2 separate regions of the Homo sapiens genome follow, and region 2 is linked to region 1. The links are contacts of gene promoters, found by promoter capture Hi-C in blood cells and fetal thymus (Javierre and others, 2016). All regions are on one chromosome and are shown on one strand. The core of a region is centred on a gene start or on the middle of the fragment in contact, and the rest is flanking DNA. Distances in the headings are between cores, read along the strand shown.

Region 1 (3,025 bases), core at 341-2,840:
TTTATTTGCACAAGCGATATATAAAGACGTTTTCTTTGCAACATAAAATGATAGGTTATGACTCCTTATGCAGATACGGTTTAGACACTCGTTTAAGGAGCATCCTGGCCCAACTTTTAAAAAACGTGTGTGCATTCACGTTATGCATCAGATGCTTTAGGGAACTTTTTTCCCTGGGGCATGGGACACGTCATGGGGTAGACGGTCGGGTACGTCTCCTCTACCCAGCTGCTGCTTTGTTTTTTTTTTCTTTTTGAGACAGAGTCTTGCTCTGTCGCCCACGCTGGAGTGCAGTGGAGCCATCTCTGCTCACTGTGAGCTCCGCTTCCCGGGTTCACGCCATTCTCCTGCCTCAGCCTCAGGAGTAGCTGGGACTACAGGCACCCGCCACCACGCCCGGCTAATTTTTTGTATTTTTAGTAGAGACGGGGTTTCACCGTGTTAGCCAGGATGGTCTCGATCTCCTGACCTCGTGATCCGCCCGCCTCGGCCTCCCAAAGTGCTGGGATTACAGACGTGATCCACCACGCCCGGCCTTCTCTCTTTCTTTTCTTTTTTCCTTTCCTTTCCTTTCCTTTCCTTCCTTCCTCCCTTCCTTCCTTCCTTTTTCTTCCCTCCCTCCTTTCTCTCTCTCTTTTATTTTTTTGAGACAGAGTTTCACTCTTGTTGTCCAGGCTGGACTGCAATGGTCTGATCTCGGCTCACTGCAACCTCGGCCTGCTGGGTTCAAGCGATTCCCCTGCCTCAGCCTCCCAAGTAGCTGGGATTACAGGCGCCCTCCACCATGCCCGGCTAATTTTTGTATTTTTAGTAGAGGCGGGGTTTCTCCATGTTGGCTAGGCTGGTCGGGAACTCCTCACCTCAGACGATCCGCCCACCTCGGCCTCCGAAAGTGCTGGGATTACAGGCGTGATCCACCGCGCCTAGCCCCCAGCTTCTTTCACCAGCAGAAGGCGGGCAAGCCTCAGGGTGAAAGGACTTCAAAGCACATTTCACATTGCAGAGGACAGGGTTTGGTGATCGTGGGTACTCCCTTCCCTTCCATCGTTTAGTTTTTTTCATTGTGAAGAAATGGTAAAAGGTGCCAGGACTCGATGGGCACATTTCAGGTGGAGGTTGGGAAGGTGGATATCCACCTCTCGATCTTACTATTTTCACTTTCCACCCCACCCCGTAGAAAGTGGGAAAACTGGCGCACGTGAATCCAAGGGCACGCCTGTGTGCGCGCGCACCGCAGGGCACCAGCCCCCACCCACACCGCAGGTCCTTGATTGGACGCCTGTTTACACCTGACTGCCCGGCCCTCCGGTGCTTTCCGGGAAGCGTTTGGGAGAAAAGTGTGTGGCCGCAGTAGTGGAGATCCCCTGTCTTAGGATTCGTCACCGCTACGCCCAGACCTCTTCGCCGCCCAAGGGCCTGGGGACGTGGGGGGCGGGGCGGCCTGCTATCGACCCCGCCTCTCTCGGCTCCGCCCCGCCGACAGGACCCGCCTCTCTCCCCAGGCCCGGCGGGCGCCAACCCCGCCCCTCGCTCCCAGCATGCCGTGCGACAGCGGCGGCGCGGCGGGCGGAGCCGGGAGGCGGGGAAGCAGTGGCCGTGTGAGCGTGAGGAGCTGCCGCCACCGCCTGCTCCTCGTCGTCCTCGTCCTCCGGGGCCCCGGCGACGTGGGCCGCGCACGGCCCTGGAAAAGACGTCGCCTCCCCTTCATCCGCCTCTCTCTCACCGCGCCGCTCCCGCCTCCTCGTCCTGCGCTGCGGGCTCAGGCGGAACCCGGAACGGCCGTCCTCTTCCCCCGCCCTCCGCCGCCTCCTCCTTCTCCTCCTCCTCCTCCTCCTCCTCCTTCTCGGCTTCCTCCTCAGCCCCGGGCCGGAGCGGGGTGTCGGCGGCGGCCGGTTCGGGCGGCGACTCGCGCTTCTTTGGGCGGCGGCGCTTGGCCATGTCGTGTCGGGGAAGGTAATGAGCCGCAGAGCCCCGGGGTCTCGGCTGAGCAGCGGCGGCGGCGGCGGCGGCACCAAGTATCCGCGGAGCTGGAATGACTGGCAACCCAGGTGGGTGACCGGCCCGGGACCCCGCCCCGACCTCCCGGGCTCCGCCTCGGGCGGGCCGAGGCCTAGGGCCGCGGGGCTGGGAGGCGCGGCCTAGGCCCTCCACCCCTCGGAGCCGGGCGCGGCTTCCTGGGTCTCCTCCGCCCCGGCTGGGGGAGGAAGGCCGCGGGGAGGCGAGGCCTAAGTGCCTCCCCTCCCTGCTTGTTCAGCCCGGGGCTGGAGCCGAGACCCGGGGCTCCCGGCGGTGGCACTGGCCTGGGGTCGGGACCAGGAGGTGAGAAAGAGGCGGGGGTGGGGGTGGGGGGCATTCCAGTTACAGCCTCCCCCTGACCCCGAGTTGGGAGATGCTGAGAGTCCAGGACCCTCCCTGTTACTCATTCACTTTCTCGGTTCCCCACTCTTTCAGCCGCCACGTGAGAGCTCTTCTAACCTCTGTTCCTTTCTGTGACCCCCACGTGTTAATATTGAAAAAAACAAAACAAAACTCCAGCTAAGGCATTGCTCTGACTCTAGGCAGAACATTCATTAGTGGAGCATGAGATGAGATTGTGTGACTGTTGATGGGATCGACCCACGCTGGTCTTGGGCGATGGAAGTTTTCCCTAAGTGCAAGGCCGGTTACTCTGGTGAATCGTAATTCATACCTGGACACTTGAGTGAACTCTTTGGGCACCCACTTAGAAGTCTAGAGAATTTCCTCATTTATGGAGGATTTGATCTCAGACCGTTTTGGGGCTTAGTGAGATTTGAATATATTAGGAACATTAACTTTTTAAATAAATGTAGTTTCCTGTCTTTTTGATCAATGGGAGGGCAGCTGTGCCTAATTTAGGACTGATTTATTCTAATCTCTCTTAATAAATGCTTGTATTCAGAGTCTGTTTGGAATTTAACCCAATGCTTAGAACTCCTTAAATATACAGAAATATATTTTAGGGGTAATTGATTCATGGAACTCTCCTACTTTGGAGCACAATTGT
Region 2 (3,025 bases), core at 151-2,650, 95 kb after region 1:
TTAAAAGTTTTTTTCTCATATATTTATAGGAATTGAATTCGAATTTCCGGCAAATCATATTTCCAGAAGCACTTCGATGTTTAATGAAAGGGGAATACACGTTAGAAAGTATGCTGCATGAACTGGACGGTCTTATTGAGCAGACCACCGATGGCGTTCCCCTGCAGACTCTAGTGGAATCTCTTCAGGCCTACTTAAGAAACGCAGCTATGGGACTGGAAGAAGAAACACATGCTCATTACATCGATGTTGCCAGGCAAGTGAATGCTGGCTGTGCCGTTTCCTTGTAAAAGAGATGGGACAGCCAGAGAAAGGGATTCTGAGCTCTTTAACGTAAGTTTACTTTTAGTTTTTAGAGCAGGTATAATTACTTATAAATGCTCATACACGTATCTTTTTAAAACTTTTTTATTTTGAAATAATTATACATCACGAGAAGTTGCTTAAAAAAAAAGTGCAGGCAGGTATTGTGCATGCTTCATCCTTCCTTCAGTGTTAGTATCTATAGTAACACTATGAAACCGACAATGATATAGTCCACACCGCTTACTCAGATTTCACTAGTTATACATGCACTTATTTGTGTGTGTGTGTGTGTGTGTGTGTGTGTGTGCAAGTGTATAGTTCGGTCACATACATACATATATCCTTTTAGTGCTTGTAGTTATGTACATGTACATACACACAGTCGAACATGATATTTTTAAGCCATCTTGTAGAACCCCTTGGAGACACCTGAAACAGTTTATTTAGCTAACAGAGTACACACCTCATTTCAGGTGAATACTTTTAAATTAGTTTAAATATTGTAAGTTTGTTTTAGCTAATTGGATATTGTATTTTTCATCTCATTAGTCCAGAAAAGCAATCTGACTTTGGAATCTGTAGAGTTTGGGCAGTTCCTGCAGACATGCATTGTACTCAGAGCTAATCCCTAAGCTTCTTTGTGCCTAGTGACTCAGGGCCTCTTTTCTTTGGCGTTCCAATGTCTAATTCACAGAAGAAGTATAATTGAGAGAGTAGAAATGAATTGTAGCACCGTTTCCTCCCATGGGAAATTTCAAAGATACAAGACTGTAGAGAGAATAGTCTAATGAACCCCCTGCCACCACCTTTGGTAATTATCTGCACTGGGCTAGTCTGGTTTAAATTTACTACCCTAGTTATTTAGAAGCAAATATTTTTTCATTCTTAAATATTAATAATGCAGAAAGTATACATATATATGTAATCTTATTTTTCTTGACTGTGGTGCCATTATTTCATGAAAAAAGTAGCAATAATTCCTTAATGTTAATTATCCTGCATTCAGAAATTTCCTGTTTCTCATGTTTCTTTGGAGTGGTTATATTCATAAAATAATAAATATATTCATATATATTCATAAATATGTACGTGTGTGTGTATATATATATATATATGTATTTTTTTTTTTTTTTTTGAGATGGAGTCTTGCTGTGTCGCTAGGCTGGAGTGCAATGGTGCGATCTCGGCTCGCTGCAGCCTCCATCTCCCGGGTTCAAGAGATTCTCCTGGCTCAGCCTCCCTAGTAGCTGGGACTATGGACGTATGCCCCCATGCCCGGCTAGAAAAAGTATAATCATTAATAGCATAAATATTAGATTATTTATAGAACAGCTTTATCATATAATTTTTAGCAGTATTTAAAAAGTTAAATGCTAGATCTGTACATCTTTGTTTTGCACTGAATTTCAGACTTCATTTTATCTCTCTTAATATCTTATCTGGGTTCCCCTTATCCTCATACAGAGGAATGTTTACCTAAATGTGTACTTTGGGTAACAAACTTTGTGCCTGGATCTATGGCAGCCTGTCTGTGCCTTGTTTCAGAGAAGCTTTTTTTGGGTAATCTCAAGGAAAATCTCATACCATCTTACAGCTCTTTTTCCATTAGAAATTTATCTGGTAGTTTAACATTTTTAATTCTCTTAAAAATTCTTAATAGTTCCAGCCATTTGGAATGGTTTCTGTGTGTGTGTGTGATAAGAAATAGTGCCTGGATACATAAGCACTATGTAAGTCTTAATGGTAATGTGAGGGGTGAATTTCTGAAGACCTTACATTCAAAATGTGCATAAATAAAAACCAAGCATACCCAAAATAGCAAGTATACTTGGTTGTATCGTATCTTGTAGTAATAGTGCGAACATACCTGACAATTTACTAGGTCCGCCAGCTTTAGAATGGTGTGATTTCTGACATTTTTCAATACAGGATTTTAAATTATTTCATATTTTGTGTGTAAAAATGAGACTGATCACTGAAGTTTGCATAAAATTTAATCACATAACAGTCATTAATAACGAATTGGAATCATTGAAATCCTATTGTGGTTGACATGAAATACCATTTTATCATCATAACATTCCTTCTTTTTTTTTGAGATGGAGTTTCGCTCTTGTTGCCCAGACTGGAGTGTAATGGCGCGATCTTGGCCTCCTAGGCAACCTCCGCCTCCTAGGTTCAAGCGATTCTCCTAGCCTCAGCCTCCTGAGTAGCTGGGACTACAGGTGCCCACCATCACACTCGGCTGATTTTTTTGTATTTTTAGTAGAGACGGGGTTTCTCCATGTTGGTCAGGCTGGTCTTGAACTCCTGACCTCAGGTGATCTGCCCACCTCGGCCTGCCAAAGTGCTGGATTACAGGCGTGAGCCACCGCGCCCGGCCTAATAACACTTCTTCTTAATGCCAGAAGGCTTTCTAGACTCTCACAGCATGCAGCTGTGAGATGTACTGACTTTGTATGTTCCCACCAAAGGCATTACTTTTCAGCGAAGGTTTTAACTCCTTTTGTTTTTCTGTAGACTACTACATGCTCAGTACGGTGAATTAATCCAACCGAGAAATGGTTCAGTTGATGAAACACCCAAAATGTCAGCTGGCCAGATGCTTTTGGTAGCATTCGATGGCATGTTTGCTCAAGTTGAAACTGCTTTCAGCTTATTAGTTGAAAAGGTAAATGTGGACTTGGATTTAAAAATAATGCAAGTGCCATAAAGTAGT

Evidence for each region. The method cuts DNA at HindIII sites, captures the fragments that hold promoters and counts their contacts. A CHiCAGO score of 5 or more calls a contact.
Region 2: a contact is called between a fragment that was not itself captured here and the fragment with the promoter of SMG1 in region 1, in 2 of 17 cell types (activated CD4 T cells and non-activated CD4 T cells). The highest score is 5.5, in activated CD4 T cells.

Annotation. Positions count from the first base shown.
Region 1 is chr16:18,924,973-18,927,997 of GRCh38, reverse strand. SMG1 (SMG1 nonsense mediated mRNA decay associated PI3K related kinase) reads left to right here and starts at 1,590. Exons shown (of 63, transcript NM_015092.5): 1 at 1,590-2,048. The coding sequence starts at 1,957. It overlaps SMG1-DT (SMG1 divergent transcript), which reads right to left and starts at 1,811. Exons shown (of 2, transcript XR_001752094.2): 1 at 1,724-1,811. RefSeq lists enhancers at 497-1,110, 1,111-1,723 and silencers at 1,409-1,748, 1,779-2,368. The HindIII fragment of the contact is 12,853 bases long and covers 1-3,025 here.
Region 2 is chr16:18,830,171-18,833,195 of GRCh38, reverse strand. SMG1 (SMG1 nonsense mediated mRNA decay associated PI3K related kinase) reads left to right here. Exons shown (of 63, transcript NM_015092.5): 51 at 30-256; 52 at 2,827-2,977. Among named protein-coding and RNA genes, the nearest start is that of ARL6IP1, 30 kb to the right of the region's middle. The HindIII fragment of the contact is 917 bases long and covers 942-1,858 here.